Regions from separate parts of the Homo sapiens genome. Here all the other regions are linked to region 4. Evidence: promoter capture Hi-C in 16 types of primary human blood cells and fetal thymus (Javierre and others, 2016). All regions are on one chromosome and are shown on one strand. The core of a region is centred on a gene start or on the middle of the fragment in contact, and the rest is flanking DNA. Distances in the headings are between cores, read along the strand shown.

Region 1 (2,705 bases), core at 84-2,583, 390 kb before region 4:
AGCCCATATGGGGTTGATTTATAAAAGGAAGCATTGGCCATTTTTGCTGCAGGGGCAAGCTGTCCTGGGGGGCCTTTCCTGGGGGATAGGGAACAGCATTGGCCTAATCTCGGGTCTTGGAACCCTGTTCTTGAACCCTTGGCAGCATTCTCTGCCGGATTTATAAAGTGACTGCAGCTCTGGAACATGAGACAAAATTAGTGCAGCCTCAGAGAGCGCTGTCTCGAAATTGGCTTTCCAGCGAGCGGCTGGGTCTCCTACTCTCCCCACAGGTGGGGCTGTTTGAGTCCCTGGTAGGATTTGTTCCAGCTGCCAGACATGGATTAGGCTTTTGACTGTTGAACCCAGACAAGGGGACCAGCTGTTTAATGAGCTGGAGGAGGAAGTGGCTCCTGAAAGCAAGTCCTTTTCTTGGCTCAGGCATGCAGATCAGACATGGAACCAGGAAAGCTGCCTCGCCAAGCTTGGTAACCAGAGGGAAATGAATGATAGTGATCTGACAGGGAAGGATAAGGACAGGGGAGAAGAGGGGAGGTGGGGAGAGGAGCAGGAGGGGAGGAGCCAGGAGGGAAATCATGGACCAGCCTTTGCCTAGACCCCAGGGCTCTGCTGCAGGCTCCACTCCTCTTGGCTTCTTTTGCTATCAGAATCATTGTGCCTTGGATCCTGGAGATCCCGAGGCATGTAGATGATCTAGGGGTAGGCTAGATACAGATTTACATTGATACCTGGAGACAGGATAACCTGGGTTCAAATTCCTGTTCCTCATTGACTTGCCTCCGTTTCCTCATCTACAAAATGGGCTTCGTGTTTCCATGAGCAGGGGCGTAATGCTCTCAGACTTCCCCACCCTGTCACATTCTGCCATTCAGCTTTTGGTAGATGTTCAAACTGCCATTTGGACCTTTATCCATGGGATTTCAGTGTCTCTCTCTTGATTGGATCTGAACTTGGTGGAGGAGGTGGTGGGTTTATTCATTAGAACCCACTGAACATTAATGGCACCCACCCACGTGTTTGATGTGACGATTAAGCAGGTGAAGGTGTTTGTAGCTGCTTGTATCCTCCATGTCTAGATATATAGCTAATCCATACCTGTGCATATCTATACCTATCAATACACACTGGGGCCCAGCACAGATCGGTGCTTAGTTTGTTTGCTTTTTGAGACAGTGTCTTGCTCTGTTGCCCAGGCTGGAGTGCAGCGGCATGATCTTGGCTCACTGCAACCTCCACCTCCCAGGTTCAAGCAATTCTCATGCCTCAGCTTCCTGAGTAGCTGGGATTGCAGGTGCCTGACACCAGGCCTGGCTTGTTTTTTTTTTTTTTTTTTTTAGTAGAGACAGGGCTTCACCATGTTGCCAGGTTGGTCTCGAACTCCTGGCCTCAAGCAATCCGCCCGCCTCAGCCTCCCAAAGTGCTGGGATTACAGGTGTAAGCCACTGCACCTGGCCAGATTGGTGCTTAGTTTAATTTCAGCTGGCGAGTCCTTCCCGTCCAGCCTCCTCCTAATGTGCCATTGTGGGGAGAGGGCAGGGAAGGTCTGAGAGCAGCCTCATGCCTTCCTGGAAGAGTGGGCCTGTCCTGGGGCCTGGAAAGCAGGGATGTGGTGGCAGCTCCCCAGGCAGCTTCCTGCTCCTCAGCTGAGATTTGGAATGAGTGATCCCCTCCCTGCGCAAACCCAGGTAGTCCTCAGGGAGGCAGGTGAGGGGAAGGTTTCAACCCCGCTTCTGCCACCAACAGCAAGGGGTGACCTGGGGGAAGTGAGTAGGTTGGGCCTGGGCTTGGGGCTCCGAGGAGATGGGTGGCAGGGCACAGCCTCCTAGAAAGTCAGGGAAGCAGGGCTAGCTCCAGTCACTGTCCCAACTGTCACCCAGTTTATGGAGAACTGCTCTGTGCCAGGCCCAGTGCTGAATAAGACACGCACGGTCCTGGCTCTCAGGCAGTTGATATTAACATGCTATCCTTCATGAAAATCATGAGAGTGCTGTCGGCCACAGTTCCGCAAAGAAGCTGTTGGGGCCACGTGCATTTCAGATTTCAAAATTGTTTTCAGATTTTATTAATGTAATGTTCCCTATATTACAGACGACTCCAACATATTCATATTTCTGTAGCGAAATACATGTGAATAGTGGGATACAGACTGTTAAGTATCTCTAAGGTCAGTTCAGTTTAGGTTTTGCTGCCAAATGAGTTTTGAAAAGCTTTTTGGTCTCAGAGCTTTGGGGATGTTGGAATGGCAGAGGAGGGATGAGGGACTGACCACTTCCCGAGCTCTGAGAAGCACTGGGCCGAGCACTTTCACTGGCTGAATACATTAAACGCTCACAACAGCCCTATGAGGTCCGTTCTATTTTTGTCATTCTGACTGTACAGAAGAGGAGATCCAGGCACAGAGAGGTTAAGTAATTCACCGAAGTTCACACAGCTAGTAAGAGGCAGAGCTTGGATTCAAACCCCTCGGGGGCCAAAGCCTGCCAAGGTCACATAGTTTACAATCCAATGTGTGGTGGGCAGGTTGGGGAGGTGGAGGGAGCACTAGCACAAAGATGGTTACAGTGCAGTGGAAGAAGTGCCAGAACTGGGGGGTCCAGGTCCCTGAAGCCCAGAGGCAGGGGCCCAACTCAGCTTAACGGTTGGGGAAGATGCCCTAGGGGAGCTGGCAGCTTCCCCAACCCCGAGGGCACCAGCCAGGTAACAGC
Region 2 (2,754 bases), core at 157-2,656, 410 kb before region 4:
ATAAATAATAAAGGCCTGCTTTTATCTCTTAATTGCCCTTGCCTGAGGTCACACAGTCAGTAGGTGGCCAAGACCATCTCCTGCCCATCACCTACTTTTTTTTTTTTTTTTAGACAGAGTCTCGCTCTGTCGCCCAGGCTGGAATGCATGGGGGTGATCTCAGCTCACTGCAAACTCTACCTCCCAGGTTCAAGTGATTCTTCTGCCTCAGCCTCCCAAGTAGCTGGGACTACAGGCGTGTGCCACCACCAAATTAGAAGGAATGCTAATTTCAGAGGGAGAGATACATTCTGGGAAGGAGAACTTACAGAACGCCCAGCTAATTTTTGTATTTTTAGTAGAGACGGGGTTTCACCATGTTGGCCAGGCTGGTCTTGAACTCTTGATCTCAAGTGATCTGCCCACCTGGGCCTCCCAAAGTGCTGGGATTACAGGCGTGAGCCACCGCTCTCGGCCTCATCACCTCCTTTCTGCAAGCTTCTCCTTGGGGAGTGCAGTGTGGCAGCCAAGGGCTTGGGCTTTGGACCCAGAGTGCCTGGGGTTCACATCCTGGCTTTTGCTTGGGCCAGGGACTTCAGTTCTCATACTCAGCTTTCTCCCTTAGGAAAGGTGAAAGTCACCCTCCTAAGGTCAAGGTGATGCTGCTGGTGCAGCGAGTAGCTCAGAAAGGGGCAGCTGAGGCAGGCAGCTTTCCCTGGGGTCTCTGGCCCTAAGCCCCCCGACCTGTGGCCGTTAGGCCCAGTGGGACAGTGGTTCCTCCCCCTGGCCCTCCAGGTGGCATCCGGCCCTCTGCGGCTGCAAGCCATGGGCACCAAGGACGGTTCTGAAGTCGCCCTGAGTTTATGAGGCTGAGCGGAGAGGACGAGGCATGTTAAGTGTAATAGGGTTGTGTGAGATTAATGTGAGGCCGGGTGAAGCAGCTAAGGCAAGTCATTTTGGCAGTTAATACATACATTTAAGGAATGATTTGAGAGTGTGAAAACATTTAAAAGGAATGCTAATTTCAGAGGGAGAGATACATTCTGGGAAGGAGAACTTGCAGAGGACAGAGCTGGGGTGGAGCCAGGATGGAGGTGCCAGGTGACCCTGCTCAGAATTCAGCCCCCTACAGAGTTTGTCCAGGTCCTTCCAGGGCCTCTCTGTGCCCACCTGTCTCCAGGAGCACAGGCCTCTCGGAAGACCTGAAGCGGGCACTGAGTGGGAAGAGCTGGGCTGGAACCTTGTGGAAGCAGGGTCCTTGTCTGCCCGCATTATGGAGCACAGGGAGTGGAGAGGGTGCAGCTCAGGGGGCTTTGTGAAAAGGGTATTGCTTGAACTGAGCTTTGAAAATGGGTTGGGAGGAGAGGGTGGAAGCAAGTGGATTTGGACTTTTCATCCAGGAGAGAAAGGTGCTCCGTGACTGAGCCTGTGATCCGGGTAGGATAGGGCGGCCCATATAATAGGGGAGACTCAGCTTCTTCAGGCCTGCGTGCAGGCTTCACTAGGGTCCTGGAGAGCAGGAGGCCAGGAAGAGCAGCCTCCTCCTCCTCAGGGAGCTCTCCCTCTCCTGGACCCTCTGGATGGGAAAGGTGGAGTCTCTCTGCTCTGAAGTGGTTTTTTTTTTTTTTTTTTTTTTTTTTTTGAGACAGGGTCTCGCTGTGTCTCCCAGGCTGGAGTGCAGTGGCACAATCACAGCTCACTGCATCTTCGCAGCTTCGACTTCCCGGGCTCAGTTGATCCTCCTGCCTTAGCCTCTCAAGTAGCTGGGACTACAGGTATACACCACCACGCCCGGCGAATTTTTGTATTTTTTTGTAGAGATGGGGTTTTGCCATGTTACCCAGGCTGGTCTCGATCTCCCGGACTCAAGTGATCCGCCCGCCTTGGCCTCCCAAAGTGCTGGGATTACAGGCATGAACCACCGCGCCCGGCCCCACATGCTCCTTGACGGCACAAGCCTCCTCAGCCCTGCTAGTGAGATTGGAGGCAGGCCCTTCCTTCCTGGAGTTTGATCTTTCAGCACCAGAAAGTGTGTGATCCGGGAATCTCCTGGGAACCCCTCGGCTCTAAGACCTCAGCCCTCCCATCCACTGATCCAGCCTAAAAGTGGAATGAGCTGATCCTCAGCTTGCCCGTCCCATCTCCACTAGAGGCCCAAGAGCCAAGGAGTTAGTGCCGTCACAGCTGGCTGCGATGAAGGCCTTTAAAAGTGCCTGGTGTGGTTATTAATAATGTCTCCCGGCTCTGAATGCCTCTTTAATTCCTCTGCTTAAACCACTCTGGAATCCATAACACTTGCCCCTTAGCCTGTGGTAATTCCGCTCCCTTAATGGCCTTTTATGGAGGGAGCTTATTGAAAGCTTTTCCCCACCGTGAGTAAATCATGTCCTCTGGGTCATCCTTGCCTGCAATTTTATTAACTTCTTATGAGAAGTCAGAGGGACCAGAGGCAGGCCAATGTTTCCTCCGTGTTCTGTCCTGCCCGGGCCCGGCACTGTCCCTTTCCTGGCTGGGATCTCAGAGGAGGAGATGGCTGGGGACGTTGGAAATCAATAATGTTTGGAATGTCTCAACCCAGTGCCCCTGACTCCTTCACTCTCATCTGTCAATCCTTCCAGGTGGGTAGGAGCTGGGAGACCAGGCACTGTGAATGGGAGAAGCAGGGGACACTGGGAAGCAGGGACAAGTGCCAGGAGGGACAGGATACGCATCAGTTACCTGATTCACTGGTTACCTGGTGCATCAGCTACCTGGTTCATTGGCTGGTTACCTGGT
Region 3 (2,700 bases), core at 13-2,512, 490 kb before region 4:
AAGGCCGCTGTACGTTCCTTCTCCTTCTTGACACAGCTTAGGACATGGTTCATGGTATCTTGGAGATACTGGGTATCTGAGCACAGAAAAGACAAAGTAGATAGCTCCAGGTCAGGGTTAGGGTCTACATATCAACAGTCAAAGGTCCTATAAAGCAATTCAGTTTAAGAATAAATTAAGAAAGTGGCCAGGCACAGTGGCTCACACCTGTAATCCCAACACTTTGGGAGGCCAAGGAGAGAGGAGTGTTTGAGGCCAGGAGTTCGAAACAGCCTGGGCAACACAGTGAGACCCTGTCTCTACAAAAATAAAAATTAGCCAGGTGTGGTGGTGCATGCCTGTAATCCCAGCTACTCGGGAGGCTGAGGCAGGAGGATCACTTGAGCCCAGATGGTTGAGGCTGCAGAAAGGTGTGATCGTGTGCAGCACTGCACTCAAGCCTGAGTGACAAAGAGCCTGTCTCAAAAAAAAAAAAAAACCCAAAAAACGTAAAAGGTTGCCAAAACAATATCACAGAATTGTCTCCATTACTGTTACATTTTCACACAAGAATTACATGCTCTTGCTGAAGAAATATATGTCAAACCTTGTTTAAAAACAGAAGATCATCTAAACAATTTTACATTATAATGAAATTTGAAGTACAGTCATGGGCCGGGTGCAGTGTCTCACACATGTAATCCCAGCACTTTGGGAGGCTGAGGAACATCACTTGAGTCCAGGAGTTTGAGGCCGCACTGAGCCAAGAGCCATGCACTCCAGCCTGGGCAACAGAATAAGACCCTGTCTCAGATGCAGTGGCTCATGCCTGTAATCCCAGCACTTTGGGACACCAAGGCAGGAGGATCACCTGAGGTCAGGAGTTTGAAACCAGCCTAACCAACATAAAGAAACCCCATCTCTACTAAAAATACAAAATTAGCCGGACATAAGGGTGCATGCCTGTAATCCTAGCTACTCAGGAGACTGAGGCAGGAGAATCGCTTGAACCCGGGAGGCGGAGGTTGCGGTGAGCCGAGATCACGCCATTCCACTCCAGCCTGGGCAACAAGAGCAAAACTACATCTCATTTAAAAAAAAAAAAAAAAAAAAGACCCCATCTCAAACTAATAAAAAACCAGTACAGGGTCGGGCGCGGTGGCTCACGCCTGTAATCCCAACACTTTGGGAGGCCAAGGCGGGTGGACTGCCTGAGCTCAGGAGTTTGAGACCAGCCTGCACAACATGATGAAACCCCGTCTCTACTGAAATACAAAAAATTAGCCAGGCATGGTAGTGCGCCTGTAATCCCAGCTACTCGGAAGGCTGACGCAGGAGAATCACTTGAACCCGGGAGGCAGAGGTTGCAGTGAGCCAAGATCGTGCCACTGCACTCCAGCCTGGGCAACAGAGCAAGACTCTGTCTCAGAAAAACAAACAAACAAACAAAAAAACAGTACAGTCGTGTGCCACTTAACAACGTTTGGGTTAACAATGGACCATGTATATGATGGTGGTCCCATAAGATTATAATACAGTATATTTTTACATATCTTTTCTATGTCTATGTTTAGATACACAAACATTTACCACTGTTTTACAGTTGCCTAGAATATTCATTACAGTAACATGCTGTACAAGTTGTAGCCCAGGAGCAATAGGCTACACCACAGAGCTAGGTGTAGAGTAGGCTATACCATCTGGGTTTATGTAAATACATTCTATGATGTTCACACAAGGACAAATTCTCCTAAGACGCATTTCTCAGAATGTATCCCCATCGTTAAGCAATATATGACTGTAATACTGAGCACTGTTTGCAATAAACAGGCCATTCCATTCAGCATAGGCCTGGAAATCATTTTGCTATTACCTAGAGATTTTTATGACAGTTATATTTAATAGAAGAAGATTTAGTCTATAATTTGGAAAGCCACATGTATATTTTCATTAGGTTCACATAAGCCAGTGTGCATGGGTAGGCGATTCTCATACAATCCAAGCTAAAGTGTTATTTCTCCTCTGAAGGCTGGAATTTCCTGATTCTTGCTTCTTGTCTATTTATTTCTTCTCTTCCATTGATGTTGGTCCCAAGTCCAGGCACCAGTAGTACACATAAAATAGGAGAGAAGGGAAAACCACACATCCCTTAGGAAGTTAGGGATACTGAAAGCTACCAGAACCACATTTAGACAATGAATTAGACTTCTAAAATAGCACATGCTATGACTGCATTTACTCTGAGAAATGTTTTCTCCCATGGCTCTTGTGGTCAAATGACAATGAGGCATGCTGGGGCTTGAAGACAGGTGACCAAGGAGATACAACCCTAAAATTAGAGTGGGTCAACAAGAAAAACTAAGGGGATAGCATTTCGGCAGGAAACGGGGTAAAATCAAGAGCATAATTTCCTGGCAAGGCGCCACAGCTCATGTCTGTAATCCCAAGCACTTTGGGAGGCCAAGGCAGGAGAATTGCTTGAGCCCAGGAGTTCAAGACCAGCCTGGGCAACACAGTGAGATCCCAAATCATCTCTACAAAAAATAAATTTAAAAAATTAGCCAGGAGTGGAGACTCATGCCTGTGGTCCTACCTACTTGGGAGGCTGAGGTGAGAGGATCGCTTGAGCTCAGTAGGTCATGGCTGCAGCGAGCTGAGATCGCATTACTGCACTTCAGCCTGGGTGACACAGCAAGACCCTGTCTCAAAAAAAACCCCAAG
Region 4 (2,700 bases), core at 178-2,677:
CTGAAGGTTTCCATACCTAGGTGACACTAAACAAAAGCTGGTGTTCTCTAAAGGAAAGTTGATGTTAGGAAGGGACCTGGAGGTAGAGCGGATTAATGTTCTTGTTGCGGTGGGGGGATGTGGTGGTCAACAATCTTTAAGGGAGGTGCCAGGTGAGGCAGGAGACAGCCCTTTCTTTCCTCATGTACAATTGGGGGAGGAATTTCTTATGGTTTTTCAGCTAGAGTTTTCTAAAACTTTTGGTATGCTGATTAAAGTGGGCTCCCACCAATTTGGCTCCTCAGGTGTTGCTTTTTGTTTGTTTGTTTTTCCCAGACAAGGTCTCACCCTGTCGTCCAGGCTGGAGTGTAGTGGCGTGATCTCGGCTCACTGCAGCCTCCCCGGTTCAAGCAATTCTCGTGCCTCAGCCTCCTGAGTAGCTGGGACTGCAGGTGCACACCACCATGCCCTGCTAATTTTGGTATTTTTAGTAGAGACGGGGTTTCACCATGTTGGCCAGGCTGGTCTCGAACTACTGAGTTCAGGTGATCCACCCTCCTTGGCCTCCCAAAGTGCTGGGATAACAGGGGTGAGCCACTGCGCCCAGCCTCATCTTGTGTTGGTAATAACAATAGCTTGTGTGTCCTGCCCATTTACTAAGTGCCGGGCACTGTTCTCTCCTAGAACAAACCGTAGTTAGACTCCTCTGAGTCCTCATCTTGACTAGGCCTCGGCCTTGGACCTCTGTGTCTTCCTGTCCTTGCTGGGCCTGAGCCTGCATAATAAACCAGTTTCAGCAAGAGTCCTGCTAAGTTAGCAAGAACTCCCCCATCCTTGATGTCTCCTCCTAGGAATCTTCCATTCCTGCTCCCTCATTCTGCTCTGGCTATAAATCCCTCCTTGGTCCTTGTTGTATTCGGTGTTGAGCCCAAACTCTCACTCCATGGCAATAACCCTACAGCAAGTCTTGAACAGTACTGGTTTAACAACAGTCCCAATAACGTTTTCTTTAACAACAGCAGTTAGCTCATTTAATCCTCATAAGGATCATATGAGGTAGGTAGCCTAAATAGCCCATTTACACAGGGAAGTGGGAAGGAGAGAGGGTGCCCCCAAGGATGAGACACAAGCTGTTGCCACATCAGCACTTTGCGCCTGGACGGTCCCCCAGTTGTCCTGGCTGCAGGCAGTCCGAACAGTCCGCTTCCTGGAATATTAGCCAGGCAGGATACGCCCTGGGCGACAGAAACTCCAACTTTCGCCAGCGGCCCCCAAGTACTGCCTGGGCGGTGGCGGGAGTCTGGAGCTTGGCTGAAGGCGCGAGCTGCCGACGCCGTCTCCTAGCAACCAAGCGGCGGTCACGTGACCCGCTCCAGCCCGTTTCACGTGGTCTTGAGCTGCGCTGGGGTTGGAGTGGCCGCAACGGGCGGGGCGGGGCGGGGCCGGGCAAGTTTGTTCCCCGAGTTCGGAGCCTAGGAGCCCCCCGCGGCTGCGGCGCAGGTGCCCTCGGCCTGAGTCGGGATGGAGCTGCCTGCTGTGAACCTGAAGGTGGCGACGGGCTGGGGGGAGGGTCCCCTTTGCGGGAGGAAGTGGGACATTTGCATTTTCCCGGAAGGTGGGAGGAAGGACCGGAGTTTTGGGGAAAGAGGGATGGTAGGGAGGAAGGGAAGGTACAGACCCCACGCAAGAAGGAGATGGGCAGGCAGGCCACAGCAGGGAGAGTGATCCAGGCACAGGCCAGCAGGGCGACACTGAGGGGCCGTGGGAGGTGGCAGCGGAGGGCAAGGGCCGCCCCCTCCCGGACTCAGACCCTCCCAGCGGGCAGCGCCGGTCCCAGCATTGCTGTTGCCTGCACGCCCAGAATTCCCCTGGAGGAGGAGGAAGGTGCGCGGGAGGGGCTTGTAGGCGGCTCACCTCCCCCGCGCGGGGTCAGGGACTGGGCTTGCCCCCCGGGTCCCAGCACCGTTTCAGGAGCCTCCTTGTTTGCTAAGTCGGGTTAAGGAAATCAGATGTTCCCAAGCAGTTGGTTTTATAAAGTTTACACATCCAGCGCCCTTATTTCATAATCAAGAAGCGCGAACTCCAACAGAAATTACTTAAAAGCAGAAAACCCCAACTTTGTGCACTGGGGAAAACACTGCAGGGCTTCCTGTGGTGTCTTCATTTCCCGAGCCGTGAGCTCAGTCCGGGTCTGGGTGCCAGCGGCTGTTCTTTTTCTCCCCGCCCAGCCCCGCCGCCCACGTGTCTGGGCTCCATTTGCATTAGAGGGGCTAGGGGCTGTAGTTTTGGTCAGGAAGGTGTGGACCTTGGACCAAACCGGCCATTTTGGGTCTTAGTGCAGCCTCCTTTGAGGCAATATCCAGGAATGTCCTCTTACTCATGAATGACAGAGCATTTAGCTCCCTGTTGGTGTCTGGGACTAAAGGAACCTGAGAAATAGATGGTTACAAAACAATGGCTTAATACACTTTATTATTACACAACATCTGTGCTATGACTTGCTATAGGCATGTTTCCCTTCTTAATCATACTTGCTTCAGCAAACCTTCCTGAAGCTTCCAGTCAAAGGTGGTGGGGAGACATGGCTGGAGCAAGGGAATGGGCTTGGATGGAACGTTCAGCTGGGAAGAAATTTACGTGACAGCAGCCGAGGCTTGTTGGTATCAATATGCACTCTATTCCAGGCAATGTGGGGTTAACACCAACTGCCTTTTCTCTGAT
Region 5 (2,700 bases), core at 76-2,575, 470 kb before region 4:
ATGTTCAATTTTTTTTTTTTTTTTTTTTTTTAGATGGAGTCTCGTTCTGGTACCCAGGCAGGAGTGCAGTGGCGCAATCTCGGCTCACTACAACCACCGCCTCCTGGGTTCAAGTGATTCTCGTGCCTCAGCCTCCTGAGTAGCTGGGATTACAGGCACCTGCCACCACACCCAGCTAATTTTTGTATTTTTAGTAGAGACAGGGTTTCGCCATGTTGGCCAGGCTGGTCTTGAACTCCTGACCTCAGGTGATCCGCCTGCTTCAGCCTCCCAAAGTGCTGGGATTACAGGCGTGAGCCATTGTGCCTGGCCCAACATCTATATTTTTATCATTAAAAGCTTCTAATATGCAATATAGTCGCTATTCAAATCTCAAAATAAACAAGTTACATTTATCATGAAAAGTCTTGCTCCACCCTTGCCCCTTGACTATGTATTTTCTCAGTTTCTTATGCATCCCTAGATTTTCTGTCTGCAAAAACAAGCAAATATATACGTATGTATATTCCTTTTTTTTTTTTTTTTTTTTTTTGAGACAGAGTCTCACTCTGTCGCCCAGGCTGGAGTGCAGTGGCATGATCTTGGCTCACTGCAACCTCTGCCTCCCAGGTTAAAGTGATTCTCCTGCCTCAGCTTCCCCAATAGCTGGGATTACATGTCTGTGCCATCATGCGTGGCTAATTTTTTTATTTTTAGTAGAGACAAGGTTTCACCACATTGGCCAAGCTGGTCTCAAACTCCTGACCTCAGTTGATCCGCTTGCCTCAGCCTCCCAAAATGCTAGGATTACAGGCACGAGCCACCATGCCCAGCCCATACATATATTTTTATTTTCCCCTTTTGTTATACTATACGCACTATTTTGCATTTTTAAAATTTTACTGCATCTTGTAGATCTTTCTCTTGTAGTTCCAACAGGATTCTATGCCTGCTGCACAGCAACAGTTGACCAATGCAATGAGACAGCAGAGTCTGCAGCAGAGAAAGAGTTTAGTGATCGCAGGGCAGCCAACTGAGGAGATGGGAGTGTTACCAGCGCTGAATTTACATGGTCTGCAGCAAGCTCAGTTCTTGCCTCCTCAGAAGAAAGAATTCAACTGAGGGGCATAAGGCAGAGTGAGAGACTGAGGCAAGTTTTAGAACAGGAGCGAAGTTTATTAAAGAGCTTTAGAGCAGGAATGAAAGGAAGTAAAGGACACTTGGAAGAGAACCAAGCAGTTGACCTGAGAGATCAAGTGCGCTGTTTGACCTTGACTCGGGGTTGGCATACTTCCAGGGTCTTGCATCCCTTCTCCCCTGATTCTTCCCTTGGGGTGGGCTGTCCACATGCATGGTGGCCTGTCAGCACTTGGGTAGGGGCGCATGTGCAGTGTGTTTACTGGAGTTGTGGGCATGCTCACTCAAGATGTGTTTCCCTTACCAGTCCAGTGTTCCTAGAGGAAGATCATCGGCGATTTTGCCTGTTAGTGATCATCTGCGATTTTGCCTCTTAGTGCCCATGCTTGAGCCTACTCGCCCAGCTCCTGAGATCTTATGGGAAGCTGCTGATCACCAGTTTCAGGTGTTTCTATCTTTTGGGAGACTGCCTTTCTCTGGCACCAGCTGCAATCAATTATTATTTTAGCGAGATAGCTTAACAACTGCCTGACCATCACCCAATGGTTGCTTGACATTCCTGGGGTTAGGGGGTGGGGGCCTCTCCTGCTCTGCTCATGCCTGACTAGCTATCTACTGTAACAGGAGGAGACCTTCAAATCCATCTCCCCAAGGAATTCTGAGCTGGGTTTGTTTGTTTGTTTGTTTGTTTTGTTTTTTCTTGAGACAGAGTCTCGCTCTGTTGCCCAGGCTGGAGTGCAGTGGCAGGATCTCAGCTCACTGCCACCTCTGCCTCCCAGGTTCAAGCAATTCTTGTGCCTCAGCCTTTTGAGTAGCTGGGATTATAGGTGTGTGCCACCATACCCGGCTAATTTTTGTATTTCTAGTAGAGACACGGTTTCACCGTGTTGGTCAGGCTGGTCTCAAACTCCTGACCTCTTGATCTGCCCACCTCGGCCTCCCAAAGTGCTGGGATTACAGGAGTGAGCCACCGTGCCCGGCCTGAGCTGGGGTTTTTAAGGGGATTGTAGAGGGGGAGAGGCTGGAAATTTGGTATCGTTTATGGGTTGGGGTAAAGGGGGTGAAATCATCAGGATGTAGAAACTGCATTCTTTGGTGAGTTAGCTCCCTGTGGGGTCTTTCACAATGGCTGTCATCAGTAGTTTCACTGATATGCAGGACCTGAAAGAATACCTCAGGTGGAAAACAATGTTTTGCAAGCTTAAGTTGTCTGATGACAGGGTCCGCATGATTCTGGGACAGTAGGCAGCAAACAACTATGAGGAAATGGCTCAGAGTTCAACATGACCTCATGATGAATGCTGAATGTGCTGCAAGCTTTGTTTATTTTCATTTCTCTCCCTCCCTTCCTCCCTGATTTATTTTATTTTATTTTGAGATGGAGTCTCACTCGGAGTGCAGTGGTGTGATCTCAGTTCACCGCAACCTCCACCTCCCGGGTTCAAACGATTCTCCTGCCTCAGCCTCCCGAGTGGCTGGGATTACAGGTGTGCGCCACCATGCCAGCTAATTTTTGTACTTTTTTTTTTTTTTTGAGACCAAGTCTCGCTCTGTAGCCCAGGCTAGAGTGCAGTGGCGTGATCT

What was found. Contacts are between HindIII fragments. The CHiCAGO score rates a contact against its expected background, and 5 or more counts as called.
Region 1: a fragment that was not itself captured here is called in contact with the fragment with the promoter of AGTRAP in region 4 in 2 of 17 cell types (naive CD8 T cells and total CD8 T cells); the score reaches 5.3 in naive CD8 T cells.
Region 2: a fragment that was not itself captured here is called in contact with the fragment with the promoter of AGTRAP in region 4 in 4 of 17 cell types (naive CD4 T cells, non-activated CD4 T cells, naive CD8 T cells and 1 more); the score reaches 5.2 in naive CD4 T cells.
Region 3: a fragment that was not itself captured here is called in contact with the fragment with the promoter of AGTRAP in region 4 in 10 of 17 cell types (total CD8 T cells, naive CD4 T cells, naive CD8 T cells and 7 more); the score reaches 12.9 in total CD8 T cells.
Region 5: a contact is called between a fragment that was not itself captured here and the fragment with the promoter of AGTRAP in region 4, in 4 of 17 cell types (naive B cells, fetal thymus, total CD8 T cells and 1 more). The highest score is 5.6, in naive B cells.

The regions. Positions count from the first base shown.
Region 1 is chr1:11,342,494-11,345,198 of GRCh38, forward strand. No RefSeq gene overlaps it. Among named protein-coding and RNA genes, the nearest start is that of UBIAD1, 71 kb to the left of the region's middle. RefSeq lists an enhancer at 1,112-1,612. The HindIII fragment of the contact is 1,744 bases long and covers 462-2,205 here.
Region 2 is chr1:11,326,383-11,329,136 of GRCh38, forward strand. No RefSeq gene overlaps it. Among named protein-coding and RNA genes, the nearest start is that of UBIAD1, 55 kb to the left of the region's middle. The HindIII fragment of the contact is 1,862 bases long and covers 476-2,337 here.
Region 3 is chr1:11,243,225-11,245,924 of GRCh38, forward strand. It overlaps MTOR (mechanistic target of rapamycin kinase), which reads right to left. Exons shown (of 58, transcript NM_004958.4): 9 at 1-76. Among named protein-coding and RNA genes, the nearest start is that of MTOR, 18 kb to the right of the region's middle. The HindIII fragment of the contact is 3,070 bases long and covers 1-2,700 here.
Region 4 is chr1:11,734,709-11,737,408 of GRCh38, forward strand. It overlaps AGTRAP (angiotensin II receptor associated protein), which reads left to right and starts at 1,428. Exons shown (of 5, transcript NM_020350.5): 1 at 1,428-1,527. The coding sequence starts at 1,501. The HindIII fragment of the contact is 3,809 bases long and covers 1-2,532 here.
Region 5 is chr1:11,265,493-11,268,192 of GRCh38, forward strand. No RefSeq gene overlaps it. Among named protein-coding and RNA genes, the nearest start is that of MTOR, 4.3 kb to the left of the region's middle. The HindIII fragment of the contact is 1,977 bases long and covers 338-2,314 here.